Linked DNA regions of Homo sapiens: regions 1, 2 and 4 are each linked to region 3. The links are contacts of gene promoters, found by promoter capture Hi-C in blood cells and fetal thymus (Javierre and others, 2016). All regions are on one chromosome and are shown on one strand. The core of a region is centred on a gene start or on the middle of the fragment in contact, and the rest is flanking DNA. Distances in the headings are between cores, read along the strand shown.

Region 1 (3,472 bases), core at 931-3,430, 1.1 Mb before region 3:
TCTAAAATTATCTTTTTTTGTTTTTGCTTCTGCTAAGTTTTGCTTTGAGTAGTTTTTATGGATCTTAATTTTATAATCTTCTATGATTTCTGGATGTTGTGGCATAATTAAAAATATTTTAAGTCCTAAATTCTCCCAAGTTTCTTCAATTAAAAAAATTACACTTTTTCCTTTAAACCATTTATATATTTGAAACTTATCCTGGTGAAAGGAATAAGGTATAGCTGTGCTATGGTATGAATATGACTTGTTTGTCCCCATCAAAGCTAATTTTGAAATTTGATCTGCAGTGTGGCAGTGCTGGGAGCTGGGGCCTAATGGAAGATGTCTGGGTCATGGGGTAAATCCTTCATGAATGACTTGGTGACTTTCTAATGGTAGTGGGTTCTCACTCTCACAAGACTGGATTAATTCTCGGGAATGGATTGGTTCCGGCAAGAGCAGGATTGTTACAAAGTGAGGATCCCCCTCATGTTTACTCTCTCTTCACATGTGCCTGGTTTGCCTTTGACTTTCTCTGCTGACTCAACATGAAAGCCCTCACCAGAAGCTGAGAAGATGCCGGTTCCATGCTTCTTGAACAGCCTATAGAACTCTAAGCCAAACAAACCTCTTTTCTTTATAAACTACCCAGCCTCAGGTATTTTGTTGTAGTAACACAAAATGGACTAAAGACAAGCTCCAATGACTACATCCATTTTATACTCTCCTATGTTTTGGATTCTCTTGTCTTTAGTCTTAATGTTTGTGTGTTTATTTTGGATTTTCCAGGGATTATTTCATATAATCTCAACTAATAATGATTTTACTTCCTCCCGTCCAACTTTAATGCCTCTAATTTCTTTTGTTTTTTTTTTTTTTTTTTTGAGACGAAGTCTCGCTCTTGTTGCCCAGGCTGGAGTGCAATGGCATGATCTCGGCTCGCTGCAACCTCCACCTCCCAAGTTCAAGTGATCCTCCTACCTCAGCCTCCCAAGTAGGTAGGATTACAGGCACCTGCCACCATGCCCGGCTAATTTTTGTATTTTTTTTTTTTTTTTCAGTAGAGATGGGGTTTCACCATGTTGGCCAGGCTGGTCTCAAACTCCTGACCTCAGGCGATCCGCCCACCTCGGCCTCTCAAAGTGCTGGGATTACAGGCGTGAGCCCCTGCGCCTGGCCTCATGCCTCTAATTTCTTTCTCCTGCATAGGCTAAGACTTTCCAGCAAAACGTTAAATAAAAGTGGCAGTAGACATTCCTAATTTTTGTGGAAAAGTGTCTAGTGTCTATCCATTAAGCATTTTGCGAACTTTTAGATTGGCATAAAGTTTTTTGTCATGTTTAAGAAGTATCCATATATCTCTATTTTGTTATGAGTGTTTTACAAAATCAGCAAGTAATTTAGTGAATGGGTTTTCATAGAAGATGATAAAGGGGCAGAGTTTCCCCTCTAGGTCAATGTAAACTGAGCCAGCACAAGCAGAGAGAGGAGTCCAGAGGCAGAAGTGACCATAGGAGCCTAAGTCCCTGAGGAGTAACATATAACTCAGGGAAACTTGATATTCCATGGACCATGGACTGGGAGATTCAAGTGAATAAGACCTTGGGGTCCAGGAGATGGGGAGGCCAGGCCTAACTGACAGAGGCTTATACTTTAAGGGTGAATTTATTAAACAAATATTATACAAAATACAATGAGCTGATAATAAAACATTCTTTGTTCTTAAATTTATATATGTGTGCTTGTGTGTACTAATACTGAGGCCCTTAAACCACTAAGATTTAGGATTCTTAAACAAAACAGATTAGGTAAAGTTTGCCTTCCAAAGCCAAGGGGAGAGGGGTGGCCAGGGAAGGAGAATGTTCTGGCTGGAAAGGAGACAAATTCTGAGTAAAGGAAGCTGAAGGACAAACACTTCTACTCAGGATTTAGCATTGGCAGGACTGTTTGGTGTGTAGGAATTTAGAACTGGGTCAGTATTATTTAAAGGACTACAAACCTGGTTTTAAATTTAAAAGGGGTGTGGGGGTGGAGCATGGCAGGTGGTGAACCAAAGGAATTTACTATGATCTGAAAAATAAGCTTAAGTACTAACTCCACTGTGGGCAGGGAGGCAAGAACCTTCCCTTTTTTGAGTTGAAGATAAGCCTCTTCAGTCTAAACTTTCCTAAATTCCACTTCTTCTTTTTCTATAAAACAAGGTGAAGTACTTTATGCTAGCTATCAAAAATCATTGACTGTATGTTGCATGAATTTATGAATTTATTATGCTAGAAAAGTGTTTCTTGGCTACTTCATATGTATATAAGCTTTCTCCCTCAACACAGTTTCTGCTTTTTATTTTTGGAATCTCACATAGCCTATATCTTGTTTTCAGAGTAGATACTATCACTGTGGGTGGCTGAGTTCTCATCTATATGCAACCAAGGCTAACTGGCTCTCTAGGTTACCTTGATGCCACCCACTGAGAGTCCTTTCTGGATTTAGTGATTTAGTGCTGCTTATTTTCACCTTCTCTCAGGATGGAGCCTCAGAATAGAGACCAGGTTGAAAATCAGTCTTTTACTTAGAACCATGAAAGCAGATACTACATCTTATCCGTCTATGACCTGGTGACCCAGAAGCCATTAATTTGACATTACCAACATACCTCCACACAAAGACTTTATAATCTTCAGTGTGAGAATTAAACAAACAAACAAACAAAAACTTAAAACAACTTTGGAGGGGAGAACGATAACCTAAATTTTAAGCATAAGAAAATCCCTAACAAAAAGATCCAACTAATTGCCACTGGGGGGCGATGGAAGTTCGTGAACTGCTCTGCTAATCCCTGAGGCAACTGAGCACTTTAGTTGGTTTATTTATTCAAAGCTGGAATTTGGACGTGTGACCCATCAAGCTCAGGGAAATTCCTGGATGAGGAACACAGTCCTGGGAGAAACCTACCAAAGATGGAATTAGCACCTTGGCGAACCGCCTTCAGCGCAAAGAACTTTCTTTCCTTGTGTGTCTTAAGAATTTACTTCAGTTCCCTTCTGTCTGAAGCAGAGGAAGCCAAGTTAAACTGTGAATAAGCACGACAACAAAGAAGAGTTCTTATTTATCACTACCTGCAAACACATGTAAGTGCACAGTTTAAACAGCATTCAGACATCTCACAGCCACTAGGATCAGAGTTTTGGTGTGAGTAGGCCTCAGTTGGTAACTTTCCTGAGGAAAGGAGGGAGGTTATAGAATTTATGTTAGGAAATTCTGAGTCATAGATAACACTTTAAGTGACAGTTAAGGAATCTAGTGAGAGGGACTTTGGACAGGTTTAGAAAAGTACCCTATGGAAACAAAGGAGGAAAAAAAAAGTATCTTCACTGCAAGAGTAATATTGCAGCCACTTGGTGGCGTGTTGTGGGCTTTATTTCTCCTTCCAGATTCCCTCGGTGGTGTCTGGAACCACTGGTAGGATAGGGGTCCTGGCACCAGACTTTGGCCA
Region 2 (3,335 bases), core at 17-2,516, 1.3 Mb after region 3:
TTGAGAAACCATGAGTTTCCCATTATTTTAATCCAATTACCAGGACTTTTCTGAAATCTACTATTTGAATTTAGGGAAAAGTATTCTTCTTGTTGATTCTCTAACCTGGAGGCATTCAAATCACCAAGGTGCTTTAAACAATACTGACACCAAAGCCACCCCAGACCAATTAAATGTGGATGTCTCGCAGTAGGGCCTAGGCCTCTGCATTTTAAAATTCCTAATAGTTTTTAGCATTGAGCAGCACCCATTTAAATGATATAATGTAGGCCGGGCGCGGTGGCTCGCGCCTGAAATCCTAGCACTTTGGGAGGCCGAGGTGGGCAGATCACGAGGTCAGGAGATCGAGACCATCCTGGCTAACACAGTGAAACCCCGTCTCTACTAAAAATACAAAAAATTAGCCCGGCGGGCTAATTAGTGTGGCGGGCACCTATAGTCCCAGCTACTCGGGAGGCTGAGGCAGGAGAATGGCGTGAACCCGGGAGACGGAGCTTGCAGTGAGCCGAGATCGCACCACTGCACTCCAGCCTGGGCAACAGAGCAAGACTTCGTCTCAAAATAAATAAATAAATAAAATAATGCAGGAACTCAAAACCACCCACAGTTGATTTATCTTATCCACACTAAAAGTATCCACAAATAAAATGACACAATTCTCCAACTTAAACCAGAATTTAACAGCTGTCATTACTCCATAAGTTCCTATGTACTTGTTTATATTTTATAAAAGAAGATTTTCTTTCACTTAAAGAAAAATCCACATTAAAAAACAGAAAAGAAAGTTTTGGAATATAATAAAAGTATTTCCTTCTTTGTTTTGACAACTTTGTGGCAACCTTCAAGTTCTAAGTCCATTTCTTTATAGTGAATATTTCAGTGACTCATCAGAGAGGCAAGCTAATAATAATAATAATAATAATAGTTCACCTTATGTAGTATTTCATGCTGTTAGTGTGTGAGATTGCAAGTCTAAATCAAAGCCATTATAATTTATCTGTAATTAGAAACCAGCACTTGCCGAGCAAGGTGCTTGTAATCTCAGCACTTTAGGAGGCTGAGGCAGGCGAATCACTTGAGGCTGGGAGTTCAAGACCAGCCTAGCCAACATGGAAAAATCCCATCTCTACCAAAAAATACAAAAATCAGCCAGATGTGGTAGCACCTGCCTGTAATCTCAGCTGCTCAGGAGGCTGAGGCAGGAGAATCGCTTGAACCCAGGAGGCGGAGGCTGCAGTGAGCTGAGATCACGCCACTGCGCTCCAGCCTGGATGACAGAGCGAGACTGCATCTCAAAAAACAAACAAACAAAGAACAACAACAACAACAACAATAAAACTCAGCACATAAAAATGCCTGTGGATTGAGAATTTTAAAATCGCTTTTAGAATAATTAGCGGTGGGGGGAGGGGGGAGGGATAGCATTGGGAGATATACCTAATGCTAGATGACGAGTTAGTGGGTGCAGCTCACCAGCATGGCACATGTATACATATGTAACTAACCTGCACAATGTGCACATGTACCCTAAAACTTAAAGTATAATAAAAAAAAAAGAAGAATAATTAGCTGTGGTTTGAACTTAAACAGTCTGCTTTTTTACTTGGATTCTTATTCACTTCCCTTCACTTTAATTACAGTGGTGCAAGTATTATCTCTCTCTCTCTCTCCACCCCCGTCTCTTTCTCTCTTTCTCTCTCTCTCTGTCTCTCTCCGTCTCTCTCCGTCTCTCCCCACCATGTGCTCAGAACTTTCCCGGAATTAGTTACGAAGTTAGAAATAAACAGAAGTTGACTTATCATATTACTGAATAGTCTCCCAATAGCATTTAAAAAGCACATTTAACAGGAGTCTCTCCTGAAACTCACCCAAGTAATTGGAAAGTAAATGAGTCTTAACAGAGATAAAAGAATACAATTCAATAAAAGTAGCAGAAAACCTCAAATGACTGACACAGAGAGATTTCCCACATATTACTTCCCAATATTGCATTACTTAAAATTTGCCCAAATTACCCGTCTGCACATTCCAGAGCTCACCAACCTGTAGATATAAGGAAAGACATATTATTGTAGTAACTATTTTTCTAGCTTGTGGTGCCTTTTAAAATCCTCTGAAATCTCCTTATAGCTGTTTTATACCCACACTTACTCCTATGTGATCTCATTTGGCCCATTTTATTTTGAACATTATGCATATAATGCTGATCCTGAAATCCGTGTCTCCCAGGAGAGTGAAAAACTATAAAGAAAGGCATTCCCTCCCTGCAGACAGGCACAGTGAGCTCCACAGAAGGCCAGCCTCATTCTTATGCCTTTGCGTCCTCATAGCTTAGCTCCCACATATCAGTGAGAACACACAATGTTTGGTTTTCCATTCCTGAGTTACTTCACTTAGAATAATAGTCTCCAATCTCATCCAGGGCACTGCAAATGCTGTTAATTCATTGCTTTTTATGGCTGCATAGTATTCCATCATATATATATCACAGTTTCTTTATCTACTTGTTGATTGATTTGGGTTGGTTCCACAATTTTGCAATTGTGAATGGTGCTGCTATAAACATGTGTGTGCAAACATCTTTTTCGAATAATGACTTCTTTTCCTCTGGGTAGATATCCAGTAGCAGGATTGCTGGATCAAATGGTAGTTCTACTTTTAGTTTTTTAAGGAATCTCCACACTGTTTTCCATAGCGACTGTATTAGTTTACATTCCCACCAGCAGTGTAGAAGTGTTCCCTGTTCATCGCACCCATGCCAAAGATTGGAGACTTGGGGAGAAGAGCGGGAGGGGGACGAGAGACAAAAAAACTACAAATATGGTGCAGTGTACACTGCTCAGGTGATGGGTGCACCAAAATCCCACTAATCACCACTGAAGAACTTACTCATGTAACCAAATACAACCTGTACCCCAATAACTTATGGAAAAATAAAAATAATAATAAAAAAAGAAGACCAGTGTCATTGCAAGCATGGGTTGTTTAAACCACGGAGTTCTCATCTTCTCCTCATGTGTCAGTTCCCTGTCTTGGACTCTTTACCTTCTCATTTTTTCTGACAGTGACATATTGTTTCACTAGGTACTTGAGACAGCTCTACAAAAGTCTAGGGCTATTTTATCCCCAAGGCTAACACTTTTCAGTCATCTGAACACTATCTTTTGGTTCCTTATTATTCCTAAGAAAAACACTCAATTACTAAGCCTTATTCTTCTCTGACTTTCCATCCAGAAAGAATACAAAACAAACAAACAAACAAACCATTGCTTTCTGACCCATTCTTTTAACAAATGATGCATTTAATATTGCAACAGAAGCTTAGGACCCTGTGT
Region 3 (3,629 bases), core at 30-2,529:
GAACCCGCACCCCAAAGCTGGGGCGCACGTTTGTGATCCAAGGTGACAGCTCATCTCGCCACCGCGGGGCTGGGGACACCTGCAGAACCAGGGCCGGGGCAGTGGGCCGCAGACGCCCGGGACCGGGATGGGCGAGGCTGCCGCAGAGAAAGGAAAAGAGGGCCATCTGTCAGCCCCAGGAGAGGAAATTCCAGGAGCCCAGTTCCCAGGCGCCGGACAGCGGGTGACGTGAGGGAACCGAATGAGAGGGTCCGCCCAGCGGCGGGGGACCTGTAGGCGGCCGGCCTCGGCGCTCAGAGGGCTCGAGGCCTGGAGAAGGGGCACCTCCATTCTTGGTCAGAGCCCTGGGAGTCGGGGTATTGGGAGGGTGGATCCTCTCCCGGACCCCCGGAACCAAAGATCTTCACCCAGCCCCGAGGGCCTCCTGGTGTCTCCGATCCTCTCCCTGGGCCCAAGGGATGGGGGCGCCTCGATCGTAGCCTGGACCGGAGCACTCCAGGGAGTCCCCTGGTTCCGGGGATGGAGGCGCTCCGAGCTCTGCCCGGGCCCGGGGGCTCTCGGCGGCGGCCCCGCGCTGGGCGGGGCGTGTCCCCAGCGCATCCGCGGTGGCGCCGGCCGGCGGCCCGGGTCGTAGCGCCCGCGCCGGGTCTGGCGCCCCCAGCCGGCCCGCTTACCGGTCGCGGGGGTCGATCCACGACGTCTGGCGCGTGTTGTGGTCAATGTAAAAGACGCGACCGTCGTAGTCTCGCGCCTCCTCCCAGCCGGCGGGCAGCGGCAGCTCGGCGCTCTCCCGGGCCCGCGGCGGCGGCGCGGAAGGAGCTGGGGGCGTGGGGACCGCGGCGGGGGGCGCCGGCGGCGCGGTTCCCGCTGGGGCTGCGCAGAAGGCGGCGGCTCCCGCGGGGCCTCGCGCGGCTGTCCCCGCCGTCGCCGCCGGCCGCCGCTCAGCCAAGGCATGACGGCGCGGGCCCCGCCGCCGCCCGGCCGCCCCGCGCGCGCCGCCTCCTCCGCCAGCACTAAGGCCCGGCGCCCGGGGCGCGGGGGCGGCCGCGGGGAGCCGCCCGCCGCTCCTGGCGCATCCTCCGCCCGGCGCCCGTGCACCGGCGTCCGCCCGCCCGCCCTAGCAAGCCGCTGCCCGCGCCGCCCACTCCGTTCAGGTAGCCCGGGTGGCCGCCGCGCGCGAAGTCACAGCCCGGGAGCCGCCGCCGCCGCCGCCGCCGCTGCCGGCCGCCCCTCCGTTCCCGCGGCGCGCCCGGCCATCTTCGTTCCTCGGCGCGGCCCGGGCGAGCAGGGGCAGGGCGTTCGCAGGCCCCGCCTCCGGCCGTCCCGCCCCGTTCTCACCCAGGCCCCGCGGCTCCTCCCACGCCGGCGGCTCCACCCACGCCGGCTGCTCCTCCCGAATCTCCCACGGAGGCTCCCGCTCCTCCCGCCGCCTCTGCTTTTCCACCCACTCCCGCTGCTCCGCCTCCCCCGGCCCCGCGTCCTCCGCGCCTCTCCGTCGCCGGCTGCTCCGCCCCCAGTCTCCCTCGGGGTCCTCCTCGGCGCTCGGCTCCTCGACCCCACCCCCACCCCTCCGCTTGCTCCTCCCCCTCCGCCGTCCTCCCTCTCCGCGCGCTCCTCGCTCTCTCCCTCCCGCTCCGCCACCTTCCTCCGGCCTCGGGAAACCGCATGGAGGCCAGGATGGGCGCCGCCGCGTCAGTCCGCCCCCGGGCCCCCGCGTAGAGGAAGGCGGGCGGGGAGGACGACGCCCTACCCGGACTGCGGGCGCGGCCTGCCTGGGGTGACTCCTCGGGCGCAAACAATTCCCGAGAGAGCGGGCAGTGCCCTCCCTTCACCCGCTCCCGGGCTCTGGCTGTCTGGAGACCCTCTGCGCACTTGGCGGGAGGCTGCGCCCTCGGTCTCCCACACAACCCGTCTGGTCCCGCGAAGGTGGGAAAAGCCCCTGAAGGCGGGGCCGAGGGAGCTGAGGAGCTGGGGGAGCCCGCGGCCGGTCCTCTCGGGCGGCGCAGGGAGGACGCCTCTGGAAGCGGGCAGCTGGGCAGGTGGCCACTTTGCGTCCCCGCCAGGACAGCCCTAGAAGGGCTAACCTGGGGGCCCACACTAGGCGGGAGTTCCTTGACCTTCCCTGAGCGCTTCATCCGGTTTGTGGGGTCTGATCGTTTGAGCGGAGACCCAAGTAGACCATTGCTGGGGAGGAAGCCGGGTCAACTCCTAAAACTTTCAGCCTAGACGGGAACTTCTGTTTCACTGGCTCCCAGCTGGGGAAGCTGAAGCTCCAGAGTTGGGGCTGTGTCTTGCTCTAAATCTCCCACCTACTTCGTGCCCCAGACCCACAGCCGCAACACGTTATGCCAGGAAATGCAGGACAGTATCAGGGAGATTTTTAAACAGTTACAGTGATACAAAAATATCTGGTAGAGCCTGATTGAAATCCAGATACACAGGGGAAGAGACTGGAGGAAAATGTCCTGAAATGCTCACAAGAGTTTGCATTCCTTTGGCGGGATTTTTAAAAATGATTTGCCTTCCAATTTTTTGTAAAATGGTAATATTACTTTTATGAGGGGAAAGGTTGTTTTAAAAAAGAAGAATGGGCCGGGCGCGGTGGCTCACGCTTGTAATCCTAGCACTTTGGGAGGCCCAGGCGGGCGGATCACGAGGTCAGGAGTTCGAGACGAGCCTGGCCAGCATGGTGAAATCCCCGTCTCTACTAAAAATACAAAAATTAGCCGGGCATGGTGGCGCACGCCTGTAATCCCAGCTACTCGGGAGGCTGAGGCAGGAGAACTGCTTGAACCTGGGAGGTTGCAGTGAGCTGAGATCGCGCCACTGCACTCCAGCCTGGACGACAGAGTGAGACTCCATCTCAACAACAACAAAAAAAAAATTAGAAGAATGTGGGGCCGGGCTCGGTGGCTCACACCTTTAATCCCAACACTTTGGGAGGCTGAGGTGGGAGGATCACTTGAGCCAGGGAGGTCGAGGCTGCAGTGAGCCGTGTTTGCACGATTGCACTCCAGGCTGGGCGATGGAACAGAGACCCTGTCTCAAAAAAAAAAAAAAAAAAAAAAAAAGAAGAAGAAGAAGAAGAAGAATGTGAAGTTGTGAAGGTATAGCGACGTCCAAAAAACTATCCAAGGAAGGTCTTTCCTCTCCCTCCTCCTACTACAACACAGAAACTTTCTTGCTCCCCAAGTATCTATCTACCCCTACCTGAATGTTCTATGTGAGAAATTCCACCGCATGAGTCCTTTTAAACATGTGTGATTATTACATGTCCAAGGGAAAGAGTGGGAGGGTCAAAAAAGCACATATTTTGTGATGTCGCATGTGCCAGGGAATGCCCCAAGTGCTGAGTGTCCCTGCTCTGACATCTTCCCTTCCGATTGGCATGATTTATCGCCAGTGGGGCTGCCACTGCCTTCTTACCTTACCACCCAACATGGCCGTTCTGAAGCTGCATTTCCACCCTCCCTGTCACCTGGTCCTTTTAGAATCTCACAAATCTGGACACAAATCTATCACTCGAAAGTACTTTGAATGGGGCTGGGGCGTATTGGAGTGAAACCGACTTCTGCAGAGAGAGAGTGGAAAGAGGAGAACACATACACCACACATCAAAGGACTCAGAA
Region 4 (3,463 bases), core at 921-3,420, 1.1 Mb before region 3:
TTGCAATGTGATGTATAAACCTCCGGTTGAATCATTTGCAGAAAGTGTTGTCAGCTTTTTCTTCCAAACTAGAGAGTGCACAAGCATGAAATAGACACTTTACCACTTACACCAATGGCATGAAATTTTACTGAAGGTACAGTGACAATCTCTACTGCAGCAGTAAATGTTTTTCTTTTTAAAGTTCAGAGGCACATGTGCACACTTGTTACATAGGTAAACTTGTGTCATGGGGGTTTGTTGTACAGATTATTTTGTCACCCAGGTATGAAGCCTAGTACCCATTAGCTGTTTTTCCTAAGCCACTCCCTCCTCCCACCCTCCACCCTCCAATAGGCCCCAGTGTGTGCTGTTCCCCTCTGTGTTCTTATCATTTAGCTCCCACTTATAAATGAAAACGTGATATTATTTGTCATGAGTGGCGCAAGGCATAATTCATATGCTTCATTTTGATATACTATATACCCCCCAAATTATATAATTTTTTAAATGTTACCTTAAGTTACAAGGAATATACATGGCTTTTGAAATAATTTTTGATCTTTTTCTTTGCAGTAAACAACCTTGTAATATGTTTTGAATCCGGATATGTAATATATTTTCACAGAGGGGGATAACCTTGTGACCCAAAGGACATTACAGTGAGCTATATTTTAGATTAAGAAGCACAAGAATCGCAGCACTTTGGGAGGCCGAGGTGGGTGGATCACTTGAGGTCAGAAGTTCAAGACCAGCCTGACCAACATGGTGAAACCCCATCTCTACTAAAAATACAAAAAAATTCGCTGAGTGTGGTGGTAGGCACCTGTAATCCCAGCTTCTCAGGAGGCTGAGGCACAAGAATCACTTGAACCCAGGAGGTAGAGGTTGCATTGAGCCGAGATCATGCCAGTGCACTCCAGCTTGGGTATCTGTCTTAATATAATATTTCTTTTTGTCAAGTGGGACTTGCATATCAAGTACCTAATTTGTTACCCTGATATTTTTTGAAAGATCAAAGGCTGTAACCTGTTCTTTTTCCATTTGATGATTTTAAATAACATGAGCTTTCTTAGAGCAAGCACCCAAACACCTGGTAATCCTTAAAATTGATCAAAATGGGGATTAGAGCCTGCTGTTACCCCTCTAAACTGATTCTCCTGGTGGCGGAGTGGGGCGGGGAATAAGGCCAGAGGATGAGAGAAGTAGATTATATCTCAGCACTTTGATTTCTCTCCTTGCTGTTGTTGATCAATGGTGATAGCTAATATTTGCTGAACATTTCCACCCACAGACTCTGTTCCCAGCGCTTTTAGGCATCACCTCAAAGTACCTGCAAAACAACTCTGATAAGTTGGTTCTATTACTCTCATTTCATAGCCGAGAAAGCTGAGGCCCAGAGACATTAAGATCACACAGCGACTAAAGGGCAGGGCAAGGACTCTGCCTCCAGGACACACATTTGTAATCATCACACACACAGCCTCAAGCCTATGGTGACACAAATGACGGGTCATACAATTCTGACAGTCACTGCAAAGGTGAGACAGGAAATGTGCATTGCTTCATTTTCCCTAAGAAGCAATCTCTGGGAGAAGATAAACCATAATGATGACTCAGTAAAGAAATTGGTAACTATCTCTAAATATTCAAAAATACTTACGTGAATTCTCACACTGTGTGTTACCACAATGTGTTCCTTAAATTGGAGTTCTAGCATTTACCACCATTTCATTTATAGACTGTCCATAAGATTGTTGAGTTCCCTGCAAGTAGGGGTATTAGTCTGTTCCCATGCTGCTAATAAGGACATGCCCAAGACTGGGTAATTTATAAAGGAAAGAAGCTTAATGGACTCACAGTTCCACATGGCTGGGGAGGCCTCACAATCATGGTGAAAGGCGAAGGAAGAGCAAAGGGATGTCTTACGTGGCAGCAGGCAAAAGAAGTTGTGCGGGGAACTCCCATTTAAAGAACCATCAGATCTCCTGAGACTTATTCACTACCAGGAGAACAGTATAGGGGAAACTGCCCCCATGATTTAATTATCTCCACCTTGCCCTGCCCTTGACACGTGGGGATTATTAAAATTCAAGGTGAGATTTGGGTGGGGCCACAGCCAAACCATATCAGGGTTATACCTTTTGCAATTTTGTATTCCTTATACGATGCACAAAGGGGACATAAACATTTTGTTAGCCAGTGACTGACAGGAATACTAAATGTTAATATGCAATCCATTTGTAGCCCCAGCTTGTCTGCCAATACTTAGCCTGATGTTCAGTAATTTGTTCTGATTCTGAATAGTGCTATTTCCACAGACACAAGACTTAGTTTAAAACTCCAGAGAATATCCTAAATGAGTTTCAAGCTGTACACGAAAACTCCTATCAGTATTGACCCCTGGACCCAATCAAGCATAATCTAGACACAAAGCAGCTCTGACAATCCAGGAAGCCATGGTTTTTTCTGGAAGTAGTAAAACGATGTATAAAACTTGATCTTGTCATCAAGTTTGCTTGAGTTTAAAGCTTGTTTACCACAGTCCTATAAAACAGGTGAATCCTGCCTTTGGCATATTTTTTGTTTCCAGTTAGTGTTTTGTCTTTCATAAGAATGTCTTATCCCACACTCATTCGATAGCACTTAAGACCCCCCCAAAAAATGCCAACAGTAATTATTTTCCTCTACAGTTTAAAAATATGTGATTAGGGCTGGGTGCGGTGGCTCACGCCTGTAATCCCAGCACTTTGGGAGGTCAAGGCGGGTGGATCATGAGGTCAGGCGTTCAAGACCAGCCTGACCAACATGGTGAAGCCCCGTCTCTACTAAAAATACAAAAATTAGCCAGGCGTGGTGGCATGCACCTGTAATCCCAGCTACTCGGGAGGCTGAGGCAGGAGAATCGCTTGAACTCGGGAGGTGGAGGTTGCAGTGAGCTGAGATTGTGCCACTGAACTTCAGTCTGGGTGACAGAGCGTGACTCCCATTTCAAAAAAAAAAAAAAGATTAGTAGATGAAAAAGTGGCTGCTTGGAGTAGGGAGACTATAGCATTGTTTTTTTTAAAAAAAAATTATTATACTTTAAGTTCTGGGGTACATATGCAGAACGTGCACTTTTGTTACATAGGTATACACATGCCATGCTGGTTTGCTGCAGCCATCAACCCGTCATCTATATTAGGTATTTCTCCTAATGCTATCCCTCCACTAGCCTCCTCCCCACCCCCCCCAACCCCCCCCACCCCCCCCCGGCCCCGAGACGGGCCCCAGTGATGTTCCCTTCCCTGTGTCCATGTATTCTCATTGTTCAACCCCCACTCTTGAGAACATGCGGTGTTTGGTTTTCTGTTCTTGTGATAGTTTGCTGAGAATTATAGTTTCCAGCTTCATCCATGTCCCTGCAAAGGACATGAACTCATCCTTTTTTGTGGCTGCATAGTATTCTGTAGTATATATGTGCCACATTTTCTTTATCTAGTCT

Evidence for each region. The method cuts DNA at HindIII sites, captures the fragments that hold promoters and counts their contacts. A CHiCAGO score of 5 or more calls a contact.
Region 1: a contact is called between a fragment that was not itself captured here and the fragment with the promoter of WWC3 in region 3, in 1 of 17 cell types (non-activated CD4 T cells). The highest score is 6.0, in non-activated CD4 T cells.
Region 2: a fragment that was not itself captured here is called in contact with the fragment with the promoter of WWC3 in region 3 in 4 of 17 cell types (total B cells, naive CD8 T cells, naive B cells and 1 more); the score reaches 6.6 in total B cells.
Region 4: a fragment that was not itself captured here is called in contact with the fragment with the promoter of WWC3 in region 3 in 1 of 17 cell types (non-activated CD4 T cells); the score reaches 5.3 in non-activated CD4 T cells.

What each region holds. Positions count from the first base shown.
Region 1 is chrX:11,100,266-11,103,737 of GRCh38, reverse strand. All of the region lies in intron 2 of HCCS-DT (HCCS divergent transcript), which reads left to right. Among named protein-coding and RNA genes, the nearest start is that of HCCS-DT, 9.1 kb to the left of the region's middle. RefSeq lists an enhancer at 435-634. The HindIII fragment of the contact is 227 bases long and covers 2,067-2,293 here.
Region 2 is chrX:8,745,609-8,748,943 of GRCh38, reverse strand. No RefSeq gene overlaps it. Among named protein-coding and RNA genes, the nearest start is that of ANOS1, 15 kb to the right of the region's middle. The HindIII fragment of the contact is 4,113 bases long and covers 1-3,322 here.
Region 3 is chrX:10,012,904-10,016,532 of GRCh38, reverse strand. It overlaps WWC3 (WWC family member 3), which reads right to left and starts at 1,279. Exons shown (of 24, transcript NM_015691.5): 1 at 860-1,279; 2 at 675-857. The coding sequence starts at 954. RefSeq lists silencers at 1,307-1,366, 1,407-1,576 and enhancers at 1,397-2,280, 2,281-3,164. The HindIII fragment of the contact is 8,733 bases long and covers 1-3,629 here.
Region 4 is chrX:11,123,252-11,126,714 of GRCh38, reverse strand. No RefSeq gene overlaps it. Among named protein-coding and RNA genes, the nearest start is that of HCCS, 14 kb to the right of the region's middle. The HindIII fragment of the contact is 685 bases long and covers 1,828-2,512 here.